Linked DNA regions of Homo sapiens: regions 1 and 3 are each linked to region 2. The links are contacts of gene promoters, found by promoter capture Hi-C in blood cells and fetal thymus (Javierre and others, 2016). All regions are on one chromosome and are shown on one strand. Each heading gives the region's core, a stretch centred on a gene start or on the middle of the fragment in contact. The rest is flanking DNA. Distances are from core to core; before and after follow the strand shown. Region 1 overlaps GLOD4 (glyoxalase domain containing 4). Region 2 holds the start of TIMM22 (translocase of inner mitochondrial membrane 22). Region 3 overlaps GLOD4 (glyoxalase domain containing 4).

Region 1 (4,473 bases), core at 1,757-4,256, 220 kb before region 2:
CCTATCAACAAAAAAACACCATCAACACCCTTTAAATCACCAGTGAGGCAGAGAAACACCATCTCTCCACGAGTCCCACACAGCCAAGTCTAGCCTCCCACACTGGAACAGACGGATCTTTCTTTTGCTGAGCACCGGATGATAAACAAGGAGCACTGAACATTCTACAGACTCAGCATGGGGGCATCGGGGACAGGAGGCCGACCAGTGAAGAAGGAGAATTTCCAGGACTCCCTTCTCAGGCCCACTTGCAGGCATACGTTCACCAAGTAAGGGAGTCGGCACAAGTGCCCTTGCCATTCGCCAGCATTTTCCCCGTTTTTGCTTTTGTTTTGTCAGAGCAGGTAGCTGAATTTGCAGGCATTAAATACAAAATGAAACACTGATGAGGCTGCCTCTGCAGTCAACAAAACAAACCCTGCAAAGTTTCCTTCTTGTTCTGTGTGGCAGTCAGCGTGGGGGCTCCTCACTTCCATGCCATCCCTGAGTACCCACGCTCAAGTCTGGGAAACTGACCTCGGCTCCAGAGGAGGCATGGCTAAATGGTTTGGGGGTGATCCTATTTCTCTTGCCAGTGATTGGTTTAGGAGCAGGCACAGTATATCAAATCTGAACAGGAAGTTTGCTGGAAGATTCTAGGAAAGTTTTTCTTCTGCTCCTAAAAAGAAAGCAAAAAGGGCCGGGCACGGTGGTTCACGCCTGTCACCCCAGCACTTTGGGAGGCTGAGGCAGGCGGATCAAGTGAGGTCAGAAGTTCAAGACCAGCCTGGACAATATAGTGAAACCCTGTCTCTACTAAAAATACAAAAATGAGCTGGGCGTGGTGGCATGTGCCTGTAATCTCAGCTACTGGAGAGGCTGAGGCAGGAGAATCACTTGAACCTGGGAGGCGGAGGTTGCAAGTGAGCCGAGATTGCAGCACTGCACTCTAGCCTGGGCGACAGAGCAAGACTCCGTCTCAAAAAACAAATAATTTTTAAAAGTTAATAAAAATACTAAAAAAAAAAAAAAAAAAGCTGAGCGTGGTGGCAGGCGCCTATAATCCCAGCTACTTGGGAGGCTGAGGAAGGAGAATTGCTTGAACCCGGGAGGCAGAGGTTGCAGTGAGCAGAGATCATGCCAGTACACTCCAGCCGGACTGACAGAGTCTCAAAAAAAAAAAGCAAAAAGAAGTCAGCATCTCCTCTCCTACCAGATGGGATTGTGGGAGCATGTGGCCCCACCTGCTCCTGGCAGCTCTCCTGCAACCTTGAGGGGACTAGTTCTAGGAGAGGTACCCGCAGAGAACAACAGAACGTAGAAAGAGAAAATGTGGGGAGCTGGTGAATCATCTAACCTTGAAATCTTTCCCACCTATAGAATGCCTGCTCTGTGAGCTAAAAGATTCTATAACTGTTCAAAGTAGTTGGGTTTTCTGTTATTTACAGATGAAAGAATCATAAATCACTACATTACCAGTAGAACAGAACTAGTCTAGATCCCCTACTGCTATGTATTTAAGTTCTGATATGAGAATGTAGTCTCTCCGATAACAGGTAAAAGCACTGGCTGGGGAAGACACGTCACGTGAACACAGACTCTACAAAAAAAAGACAGGCAGCCCTCACTCTCCTTTCACCAAAGATGCCTTTAGACAGAGGCTTTTACTGGTTCTGGTATAATTACCTGACTGAGGCAGACTGCGATTCTGCAAATAGAACTTATATCCTCCCGGGGCCTCGGTTTCAAAAACACCTTCTGCAACTTCCGTCAGTGGCCACTCCAGCTTCCTGGCGTTGCTGACAGCCTGGCTAGAAGCGAGCGTGATTCCCTACAACAAACAACAGTACATCCAAGTACATGATCACAACAGATATTTTACAGAACAAGACAATGAGCCCAACCCCTATTGCCTACTGCCTTTAGGTAAAATCACCTAAGATTTAACTGGCATCCAACATTTTCTTCTAGTGATTTAAAAACAGGTTTTCAATGTTTTATCCCACAAACATTCAGACCTTTGTGAATAATAGGACAGAAATTGAAATGCCAGTGAAGTCTGATTCATTTAACACCAAAGATAACGTCTTCTAATTCTAAAGATCTAGCCACAGAAATCTTGATGTTACCTGGGTCTGCCAGCTAGCTACCTATTTAAGGTGACCTGTTCTTGCTTTTTTAACAAACAAAACAAAAATAAGCAAACTATCAAGGTTTCCTTACATTTAATCAAAGTGCCTAGAAATGTACACGTGTGCTTTGAGAAGACCAGCCTTGTTTCTGGCTCGGTTTATTATAATGGCCTCTCTGCCTCCAGTCTTGTAAATCCATTACCCACTCTGCAGCCAAAGTAAACTTTCCAAAACGCATCCTATAGTCCACCCCCAGACTGCAGCCAGCCTTGTTTTCCCTTTGCTCAAAGTCCGCCAATGGCTCATTTCACTCGGTGACTTACGGCCTAGGAGGCCCCCTGCAGTCTTACCCCATGGCACTGCCGACCCCATCTCTTACCACGCTCCCCTCTCGTTCTCTATTCCAGCCACACTGGCTTCCTTACACCTCCTCGAACACGCCAGATGTTACCTGACGGCTCTTGCCAGAATATTCTCTGCCTGGAACGCGCATCCCCCAGATATCCACGTGGCTAACTCCCTGACCTCTTTTGAGTCTCTGCTCAAATGTTATCTCTTCACTCACACACACCCTTGGCACTCTACTCAAATTTACAACCAGCCACCTACCCCCAGCCAAAACTCTGCTAGAAAAAAACGGTATTTACCATAAAGTCATTGCCAAGCTTGTAGTCTCCGACGCCATAATTGTAAGTCAGTTCTGCGACAAAATGATCATCCTCAGGCCCAAATCCCACCATTGTTTTACTCCATTTCCCATCATAAGGCCTAGAAAATAAAAGTAAATGAACTCAGTGACTACAGACAAGTCAGCCTCAGGCCACCCCCAGAGAACTACTGGGCACAGAGAGATGAGCATTCCTGTCTGGTCCTAAAAGTTCTCTTAAGGATGAGATGACCTCAGATGGTACAGAAAGCAGCTGTGGGCAGTGCTCATGGGACCCTACTACAAGCTCCAAAGACTATCCAGCATCTACCTGAAGGAAAGATTTGTTCACCTTTTCTGTAAAGCAAGGAACAGAATCCTAAAGACAGTTCTCCAACTGACCTGTTATTTCCTTGACTATCAATCAACAAGCATGAAATTCCTAATAGGCCTTGGACTGTTCCAACTTGTCACGGTACTAAGCTTAAGAGATGGACGGGCGTGGTGGCTCAGGCCTGTAATCCCAGCACTTTGGGAGGCCGAGGCGGGAGGATCACCTGAGGTCAGGAGTTCGAGACCAGCCTGGCCAACATGGTGAAACCCCGTCTCTACTAAAAATACAAAAATTAGCTGGGCATGGTGGCACATGCCCATAGTCCCACGTACTAGGGAGGCTGAGGGAGGAGAATTGCTTGAACTCAGAAGACAGAGGTTGCAGTGAGCCAGGATAATGACCCCGCACTCCCACCTGGGTGACAAAGTGAGATTCTGTCTCAAAAAAAAAAAGATACTGGAAAGCCGCTGCTTCATCTAGAGCATGTACTTATTTGCATTTGTGGCATAATATGAAACATATCTGGTCATTGTCCCTGGTTCCTGTCTCAGAGCTCCCAAAACCTCTGGAATTTCCTGATAGGAATATCTTTTGTTATATTCATAATGAGCCCCTTTCAGTCACACCTGAGTTTATGCTAATGAAGTGACTTAGAGTGGGGCCTCTACATAGACTCAGGATGGGGCTGGTCACCAGAAAGACAAATGATTAGAGGACTGAACTTTCAGTCCCATCCACCAACCTCTGGGAAGGAAAGGGATGGAGACTGGGCTCTATTAGGCTTGAACAATGAGACTCATGAGCTTCTGGGATGCTGAACGTAGGGAGGTGCTGGATTGGAGCCTGCCCAGAAGAGCATGGAAGCTCTGCCACCCACTCCCCATGCCCTGCCCTGTGTATCTCCTCTGTCCAGCCATTTCTGACTCGTACTCTTTATGATAAACCAGTAAATGTAAGTAAGTGTTTCCAGCGTTTCCCTTAGTTCCATGAGCCACTGTAGCAGACTATCAAACCCAAGGAAGCAGGAGCGGGAGCCCTGACTTGTAGTTGGTCATCGGAAATCCTGAAGATCCAGACTGTGACCGGCGCCTGACGTGGCGGAAAATCTTCTGGGACTGAGCCCTTAACTTGCAGGATCTGACATTAACTCCAGGTAGAGTCAGAATCAATTAAATAACAGGACAGCCGGCTGGTGTTAGAGAGCTGGAGAATCCCTTTGTGTCCCACAGGTGTTGTATGAGAGTGCAGAGAAATGTGTTCCCGACGCTCCTGAAGTTGCCTCCCTAATTTACTGCCTTCTTAATTAATTCCACTGCTTTATACTCATGAGAGTGCAGAGAAACAGTATGTGTTCCCGACGCTCCTGAAGTTGCCTCCCTAAT
Region 2 (4,698 bases), core at 824-3,323:
GTCTCAACTTCCCAGACTCAAGCAATTTTCCTGCCTCAGCCTCCCAAAGTGCTGGGATTACAGGTGTGAGCCACCATGCCCAGCAGAGGAATCTTTTCCGATCAACATCTTCTGAGAGTCCCTGGCCCAAGTAGGCAGATGCTTGCTACGGCACTGCCTTCAGGCCATTAGCAAAAAGTGTGCTTAAATGCCCAGAGGTGTTCCCAGGCCACGTTTTGTTCATACGAGGAGTACAAAATGATGCCAAAGTGTTAGCATTCTTGGGACTGAAAACCTCTCTCCAACATCCCCTAGGATTTTCCTGGATATGACCAGAAATCCATTCCCAATTTCTCTGCCTCCAGGCCCCAATTCTGGTTTCCTCAAAGAGGAGGAAGTGTTCTTGGTTCCCAAAATATGCTTGCAGTGCAGTGGTATAATGGTAAATGTTTAACAACAATAACAAAAAGGCCCTAACTGGCCGGGCGCAGTGACTCACGCCTGGAATCCAAGCACTTTGGGAGGCCGAGGTGGGTGGGTCACCTGAGGTCAGGAGTTTGAGACCAGCCTGGCCAACATGGTGAAACCTTGTCTCTACTAAAAATACAAAAATTAGCCGGGCATGGTGGCATGTGCCTGTAATCCCAGCTAGTCGGGAGGCTGAGGCAGGAGAATCGCTCAAACCCGGGAGGTGCAGGTTGCAGTGAGCGGAGATTGCACCACTGCACTCCAACCTGGGTGACAGAGCAAGACTCTGTCTCAAAAGAGTAATTTTAAAAAGTAAGGCAACAAATTATCAGGAGTTTTTGAGCTGGTTGTTAAGCACAGTTATTATTAAAAATTACATTCTATACATTTATAATAAATTACACTAAAAATAGGTAATATGTGCTCAAAACTCATCCCCTCCTAAAAATTTTACTACACTGTACTCCTATCTATGCTGTTGAGGTTATTTCCATAGATTGTATCTGTGTGATAGAAACACCATGTAACCACATGCTGCTGTACGTCTTCCCAATTCTGACTGATGACCTCGCTTGGTAGTTTGAAATCAGCCATGATGGGGATATTAACACCACACAAGTCAGCAAATGCTGTCAGTTAGGATTTTTTTTTTTTTTTTTTTTTTTTTGAGACGGAGTCTTGCTCTTGTCGCCCAGGCTGGAGTGCGATGGTGCGATCTTGGCTCACTGCAACCTCCACCTCCCGGGTTTAAGAGATTCTCCTGTCTCAGCCTCCCGAGTAACTGAGATTACAGGCGCCTGCCGCCACCTGGCTAATTTTTATATTTTTAGTAGAGACGGGGTTTCCTGCTTCAGCCTCCTAAGTAGCTGAGAATACAGGCGTGCACCACCATGCCCAGCTAATTTTTTTATTTTTTATTTTTTTAATTTTTAGTAGAGATGGGGTTTCACCATGTTTGTCAGACTGGTCTCGAACTCCTGACCTCGTGATCCACCGGCCTCGGCCTCCCACAGTGCTGGATGACAGGCGTGAGCCCCCGCGCCCGGTCCGTGCATTTACAGCACAAGTTCACGCTTATCTACAAAGCATCCACCTCTCACCGCACCTTCCGGGACCACGGGATTTAACGCCTCACCGCCCGATGACAGCACGAGGTGGAAAGGGCAGCGACAATGCTCGCGCGTCCCCTCCCGGCGATCCGGAGCACGGCAGCCCCGGAGCGCGCGGCCACTCCTCGCTCCCCTCAGGAGCTCGTAAGAGCCCCGCGCGGGGCCGAGGCGCGAGAGCACGCGCAACGCTTCCTGGGAAATGTAGTTGGGTGTCGGATTAGAACTACAAATCCCGGTACTCACCGCGCTGCAGCCCCGACCGTGAGGGCGCTTTCTGGTGAATCTGAATCTCGTTTGTCTGTGACATGGGGAAAGCTGTCCAAGCCCAATTCCATTTTCACAAGAGGCTTTCTTTTTGGAAACATGATAGCGGTCTCGCTGGTGTGCGCACCAGGAGCGTTGCGGCCGCGGCTTCCTCCTGCGGCGAATCTGCCGTTGCATCACAGTGGCTAGTCTCAGGGCCCGCAACGTGACGCTTGTCGAATCTGCTGCGGGGAGAAGGACGCGAGGGTTGCTTGGGCAGCGACTGTCATGGCGGCGGCCGCCCCCAATGCCGGAGGCTCGGCCCCTGAGACAGCGGGTTCCGCCGAAGCTCCGCTGCAGTACAGCCTGCTCCTGCAGTACCTGGTGGGTGACAAGCGTCAGCCCCGGCTCCTGGAGCCTGGGAGCCTGGGCGGGATCCCAAGTCCAGCCAAGAGTGAGGAGCAGAAGATGATCGAGAAGGCGATGGAAAGCTGCGCTTTCAAGGCTGCGCTGGCCTGCGTGGGAGGTGAGGCCGGGCGATGGGACCCTTGGGAGGCTGAGGGCCTGGACGGCAGTGGGGATCTCTGCCGAGAAGACCACGCGCCTGGGAGGCGAGGGACTGCGGGCCTTGACCTTGACCACACCCTCGCCTCGTTCGTGAATCGGGCGTCACCTCTCCTGCCCCCTCAGGCCGGCTTTCCTGATGAAAATTGGGTTAGAGAATCGGTGCTGTGGTTGGGGCCTGAAAGTTATTACATGACATCCTGGCTAACACGGTGAAACCCCGTCTCTACTAAAAATACAAAAAATTAGCTGGACGTGGTGGTGGGCGCCTGTAGTCCCAGCTATTCGGGAGGTTGAGGCAGGAGAATCGCTTGAACCCAGGAGGCGGAGCTTGCAGTGAGCCGAGATGTGCCACTGCTCTCCAGCCTGGGCGACAGAGCGAGACTCCGTCTCAAAAACAACAACAAAAAGTTATTACGTGGGTGACTTCATTCATCCGTTCATTCCCTTAAATTCATTCTCTTAAATAATTCTTTCAACAAATTGTTCCTAAGCAATATCACGTGCCAGGTGAAAGAGACAAGAGCCTGGTCTTCATGGGGCCTGTATTATACTATGTGGAGAAGAATGTTGAGCAGGAACACTGCAGAGGAAGGATGCAGACATATGGAAATGCACATGCAGACGACTCTAGGGCAGCAGTTGTTTGAGGTTTGAAAAACTGAAAGACCATTGTGACTAGACAGCCCCGAGCAAGGAGAGACGAAGTCTGCACTTGTCCTTCTGTTTTTCCCTTAAGTTGAAGGGGAGGTGCCCATGATTTTATTAAACTCATATTGACCATGAGGTCATGAGAGGGCATCCATCTGGACATGTCCAGCCGGCTCAGGAAGGACAGATGTGGCAGCAGTGTGGGATTTGCCATTAGGTAGCTGTGTGGCCTTGGGAGAAGTTGCTTAACCTCTCTGAGCCTCAGTTTATAGAAAGGAGAGGCTAATAGCATCTGTCTCACTGGATTATTGTGAAGAATGAATGAGGCTGTGGCATACTGGCATGTGCTCAGTAAAGCATTACTGTGAATGTCACAGTGGCCAAGAGAGTGATTTGCAAAGTTGATAGCTGAAGTTGAGGGTGGCTGGTTTACATATGAGAGAATGTAGAGAGAATAGAGGGTTAAAGATGGAATCTTGAGAAATGTTAGGGAATGACAGGAGGAAGAAATCTTAGAGACGGAGAAGATGATGTCAGTAACATAGACCCTGGATTGCAAGTCTCCAGGCAAGTGGAGAGTTTGAGTGGCAAGAGGGGGGTGTCCTCTGCACCGGTGGTCATCCAAAAGCATGGTCCCTTCCAGGATGATCCCAATAGAGTAATGCAGAAAACATGCCAAAGACACCTTCATCTCTGTGTTTGCTTCTAGGATTTGTCTTAGGAGGTGCATTTGGGGTGTTTACCGCTGGCATCGATACCAACGTGGGCTTTGACCCTAAGGATCCTTACCGTACACCGACTGCAAAAGAAGTGCTGAAAGACATGGGGCAGAGAGGAATGTCCTATGCCAAAAATTTCGCCATTGTGGGAGCCATGTTTTCTTGTACTGAGTGTTTGATAGAATCTGTAAGTGTCTCTGCCTTCTAAGAAATCCTTGCTGGGGCCACCATTTCATTACTTTTAAAGAGAAATTGCTCTTTAAAAGTCATTTGAAAGTTGTTACTAGAAAGCAAATCAGAAGCATCAGATACATTCTAGGTTGAACTTCCATAAAATAGTCCCTGTGGCAGACTTTGTGTGTGTTTACAGTATGGGCTTGCATTATTTTTTACTTTTTGTAGGCTAGAAGTTAGCTAATGATTTTAAACGAGACTTATTGGAGAGCCCCTTGAAGAAATTTTGATTACATTCCAAATGCTGGGCTTGGTTTCAGCACTCTGGTGCCACCTGCAGGAAGCATCTATGAACGCATACTATATATATATATATATATATATATATATATATATACACGCTGTATACTTAGGAACTATATTTTCAAGAAAGATTAGGTTTCCTTTGGGTAGGGACTGAATGAGCTAACGAGCAACCCTGTGTATTCCTCCTTAATGGTCTGCCTTGGCTTGTTTCTTTGGCTCTAACGTGTACTTCCCTGCCCACAGTACCGGGGAACATCAGACTGGAAGAACAGTGTCATCAGTGGCTGCATCACGGGAGGAGCTATTGGTTTCAGAGGTTAGTAAACGGCTCTCGAATGCTTTTTCTTTGTGGCCTTGGACAACGTGCTGAGGTTGTCATTTCCAAACACACGAGTGTTCCAGGGACACTTGATCTTCTTCCCTCTGACAAATAAATCATGTTTGTTTCTGTGGTAACTCGGTTTTGGAAACTTGTAGGATCTAGA
Region 3 (4,396 bases), core at 232-2,731, 240 kb before region 2:
TGGGATTGATGGGCATGGGGTATACTGTGAAAGGAAAATAAAATCTTGGGACCAAATTCACTAAGCGAAAAGGAAAAGTTAAGCTTGGAAATTGAGTCATGGAATATGCAAAAAACTTCCTTTTGTTCCTAAACAGATAAGCTACAAGACAGAAGGCCACATATCTCCCCAGGTGGTCTCCCTCACCTGACAATATAAATTAACAGCTTATCTTCATAGGTAAGGGACAAAGACAACACCAGAAACCATCCCTCACCAGCCGAGACAAAACATAGATGTACTGAGCTGAATGCATAACTGTTCCTCTGCCTGCTGCTTTCACTGTAACATATAGATTTGGTGAGCAGTAAATGTAGATTTACTGAGCTGAATGCATAACTGTTCCTCTGCCCGCTCCTTTCACTGTAACATGTAGATTTGGTGAGCGCTAAATGTAGATTTACTGAGCTGAATGCATAACTGACTGTTCGTCTGCCCGCTCCTTTCACTGTAACATGTAGATTTGGTGAGCACTAAATGTAGATTTACTGAGCTGAATGCATAACTGAGTGTTCCTCTGCCCGCTCCTTTCACTGTAACATGTAGAGTTGGTGAGCGCTAAATGTAGATTTACTGAGCTGAATGCAAAACTGACTGTTCCTCTGCCTGCTCCTTTCACTGTAACATGTAGATTTGGTGAGTGCTAAATGTAGACTTACTGAGCTGAATGCGTAACTGTTCCTCTGCCCGCTCCTTTCACTGTAACATGTAGATTTGGTGAGCACTAAATGTAGATTTACTGAGCTGAATGCAAAACTGACTGTTCCTCTGCCTGCTCCTTTCACTGTAACATGTAGATTTGGTGAGTGCTAAATGTAGATTTACTGAGCTGAATGCAAAACTGACTGTTCCTCTACCCCCTCCTTTCACTGTGACATGTAGATTTGGTGAGCGCTGATCAAAGCCTAATAAGAATGTAACCACTTATCTCCCTACCTACCCTCCTGTATTTTTCCTTTCCCTCTTCCCTCCCTTCCTGCTCTTTCCCTTTTAAATACTTGTTAGGAATAATGCTCAAAATCCTAAGGAAATAGAACACTCGAACAAAGGATTCTTAGCAAAGCAATTTTACTTCTGTGCAGAGGGGTGCCTCCTTGGCCAGTTGTCATGAGAGCACACCTGAACAAAGGGGCACGAGAGCCTTTGTTCCTGACACAAGTCCTGCCCCTCTACCCTTTCCCCATTGGCCGGGGTCAGGTCGTACAATCTAAACTAATCGCGCTTGGCTAAACATTTGATTTTTTTAGATAGGGTGGGCCCGTAAAAGAAAGCGGAGAGGAAGGGGAAGGGGTGTCTGTAATGAGCTAGAAAGTTAGTCCTCTTTCCAAATAAGGAAAGGAATGTGAGCTGGTACTGATAACGCCTGGTGCTGTGGCGTGCCTGGGCATCTCACAAAGGCAAAAAGGGAAAAGGAGAAAAAGGGGGCGGGGCGCTATGAATTAAAGAATAAAAGATTGATCAGATTATTTGAAGAGAAACGTCGTCATATCCCACATACTGAGGCCCTAAAAATCCTCTCTGGAAAGTGTGCGGGGGCCACAGATCTGTGGTTGTGTCTCAGGCACATCCTCAGCCTTGGCAAAATAAACCTCTAAATGGGCGAGACTTGTCTCAGACACTTACCCGGTTTACAATACCTTTTCATATTGTTTTCATTTTTGAACCATGTGGCTCTATTGCTTTATATAAAGAGGATGAGGCAAGGGCACTTCTTTATTATCATTGAAGTCAGAGTAAATTTACTATTGATTTCCCCTGAGGTTGGGGTAAGAACTCTTAGAACAAACAGGGAAACTTCTCAACTCTTACCCTGAATTTCAACGGACACGTTGGAGGTCTCCTGAAAACTCTGGCTGCTAAGTCACAGCGGCACTGAGTGGCAGGTGAGAGAGCCAGAAAGCCACATGAAGGAGCACTCACCGTCCCTAGGTTTGTTAATTCCGGTAACATGTCAGACGGACACGGACTTCAGACAGTCCTGCAGGCTAACTAGGAGAGCTCTGGCAACACGGCCGTTCTAAGTCTTCCCGGAGATTTAACTCAAGGCACACTTGTATTTACATGTAGGCTCCACAACCCCTTGATTCAAAAAAACAACTCTGGAGAAGCTGAAGAACTTTCCAACTTCATCTGTTTGAAACAACAGCTTGCAGCCTGAACAACGCAGTGAGACGGTCGCTACAAAAGATCAAAACGTTGGCTGGGTGTGGTGGCACGTGGCTGTGGGCCCAGCCATTCGGGAGGCTGAGGTGGGAGGATCTCTTGAGCCCCAGAGGTCAAGGCTGCAGAAAGCCACGATGGTGCCCCACTGCACTCCACCCTGCGTGATAGAGCAATGTCTCAAAAACCAAAAATGAAACACCAGCTTGGGCAAAGCTATCTTCCTCATGCCATTTTCTAATTGATCATATCCCCCAGATGTGGGAAACTAATCACTTTTGTTTAAAATTAGTTTTTGCGGATCTAATGGGCGTCTAAATAATTTTTTTTTTTTTGAGACGGAGTTTCGCTCTTGGTGCCCAGCTGGAGTGCGACAGCGTGATCTCGCTTCACCGCGACCTCCGCCTCCCAGGTTCAAGGGATTCTCCTGCCTTGGCCTCCTGAGTAGCTGGGATTACAGGCAGGTACCACCACACCCATCTAATTTTGTATTTTTAGTAGAGATGGGGTTTCTCCGTGTTGGTCAGGCTGGTCTCGAGCTCCCGACCTCAGGTGATCCGCCTGCCTCAGCCTCCCAACGTGCTGGCATTATAGGCTTGAGCCGCCGCGCCCGGCCTAAATAATAATTTTTAAAAATTACTCTTTTTTGGTTTAGAATTACTTAGCTGAACTGTGCAGAAGCAAGCTTCTGGATGCCTTGATAAAAAGCCAAAGTTGTACACTAGAGGGCTTTAGGATGAATAAAATGTTAAAAAACGCCAACAGGACGAGGTGGCTGATCACCTGAGGTCAGAAGTTCAAGACCAGCCTGACCAACATGGAGAAAACCCGTCTCTACTAAAAATACAAAATTAGCCATGTGTGGTGGCACATGCCTGTAATCCCAGCTACTTGGGAGGCTGAGGCAGGAGAATCGCTCAAACTCGGGAGGCAGAGGTTGCGGTGAGCCGAGGTTGCGCCATTGCACTCCAGCCTGGGCAACAAGAGTGAAACTCCGTCTTAAAAAAAAACAAAAACAAAAGCAAAAACAAAACGCAACAAAGCGAGACATGACAGGCAATGAAATAAATAAAAGGAGGCAGATCTCCTAAAGCCAAAATGTCCTATGCAGACAAACAGCATTACTGTTCACCCTGCATGGTGCCCACTATCATGCACAGTTGTATATTTAGGAGAAAAACGTTTTGGTACGCCAAAATACAAGATAAGCAGATAAAAGGGAAACCTGTGTGTGTTATTTAGTTATTCGGTACTTATATAAACCACTTATTTTACTACAACAAACTTCGAGGGCCACATTATAGCAGCCCAATACACTGGGAAAAGGAGTTTCTTTTCACAAGGACAATATTACTAGAGATGAACATTAAAAATTACTTAATAATCTAATAGAAAATTGGAAAATTAACATACATTCTAAAGAGAAGCAGAAGTTTACCTGGTTATTCAAAGTTCATATAATAATTTCCACATGTATAAAAAAAAAGAGAAGGGCACGGTGGCTCACACCTGTAATCCCAGGCTGAGGCAGGTGGATCACCTGAGGTCGGGAGTTCGAGACCAACCTAACCAACACGGAGAAAGCCCATCTCTACTAAAAATACAAAATTAGCCAGACGTGGTGGCGCATGCCTGTAATCCCAGCTACTTGGGAGGCTGAGGCAGGAGAATCGCTTGAAACCGGGAGGCGGAGGTTGCAGTGAGCCAAGATCACGCCATTGCACTCCAGCCTGGGCAACAAGAGCGAAACTCTGTCTCAAAAAAAAAAAATAAAAAATAAAAAGAACCAATTACCTAGAGGAGGGCCATATATATAACTTGGTTTGCTTTGAAACTCAAGACTGCTTCCCTAGGATATGGAATTCAAGCTGAATGAAAAGTTGTAGAGCTGGATGAGAATTTATTTCTCTCCGTGAAGGTATAATAGCATCACCCCTATAAGAAGATAAGCTCAAATACAACCAAAATTTCGATGCCCTACGCCCTGCCAGTAAGGGAGGAAAGCAGAGGTTACGATTTACAAGTAATTCTCTATGTGTTCTTTGGGAACCAGGATCCTCTGAGTCAATCCCTTCCAATCTCCTAAGTTTATTTTTAAAAATCTGAACCTGGCCACCACTTTACATGATGAGACTTAGAGACTGGTATCACAGCTTGATTTCAGAAGCTTACTTTCAAAAAAAATTTATTCAATGAA

Evidence for each region. Contacts are between HindIII fragments. The CHiCAGO score rates a contact against its expected background, and 5 or more counts as called.
Region 1: a fragment that was not itself captured here is called in contact with the fragment with the promoter of TIMM22 in region 2 in 14 of 17 cell types (naive CD4 T cells, naive CD8 T cells, endothelial precursors and 11 more); the score reaches 15.0 in naive CD4 T cells.
Region 3: a fragment that was not itself captured here is called in contact with the fragment with the promoter of TIMM22 in region 2 in 6 of 17 cell types (naive CD4 T cells, naive CD8 T cells, non-activated CD4 T cells and 3 more); the score reaches 8.5 in naive CD4 T cells.

The regions. Positions count from the first base shown.
Region 1 is chr17:774,110-778,582 of GRCh38, forward strand. It overlaps GLOD4 (glyoxalase domain containing 4), which reads right to left. Exons shown (of 9, transcript NM_016080.4): 3 at 2,759-2,879; 4 at 1,666-1,810. Among named protein-coding and RNA genes, the nearest start is that of GLOD4, 5.9 kb to the right of the region's middle. The HindIII fragment of the contact is 464 bases long and covers 2,775-3,238 here.
Region 2 is chr17:995,056-999,753 of GRCh38, forward strand. TIMM22 (translocase of inner mitochondrial membrane 22) reads left to right here and starts at 2,074. Exons shown (of 4, transcript NM_013337.4): 1 at 2,074-2,325; 2 at 3,724-3,920; 3 at 4,457-4,529. The coding sequence starts at 2,088. RefSeq lists an enhancer at 2,096-2,787. The HindIII fragment of the contact is 11,380 bases long and covers 1-4,698 here.
Region 3 is chr17:754,963-759,358 of GRCh38, forward strand. GLOD4 (glyoxalase domain containing 4) reads right to left here. Exons shown (of 9, transcript NM_016080.4): 9 at 4,368-4,396. It also overlaps the pseudogene DBIL5P. Among named protein-coding and RNA genes, the nearest start is that of GEMIN4, 4.9 kb to the left of the region's middle. The HindIII fragment of the contact is 2,801 bases long and covers 82-2,882 here.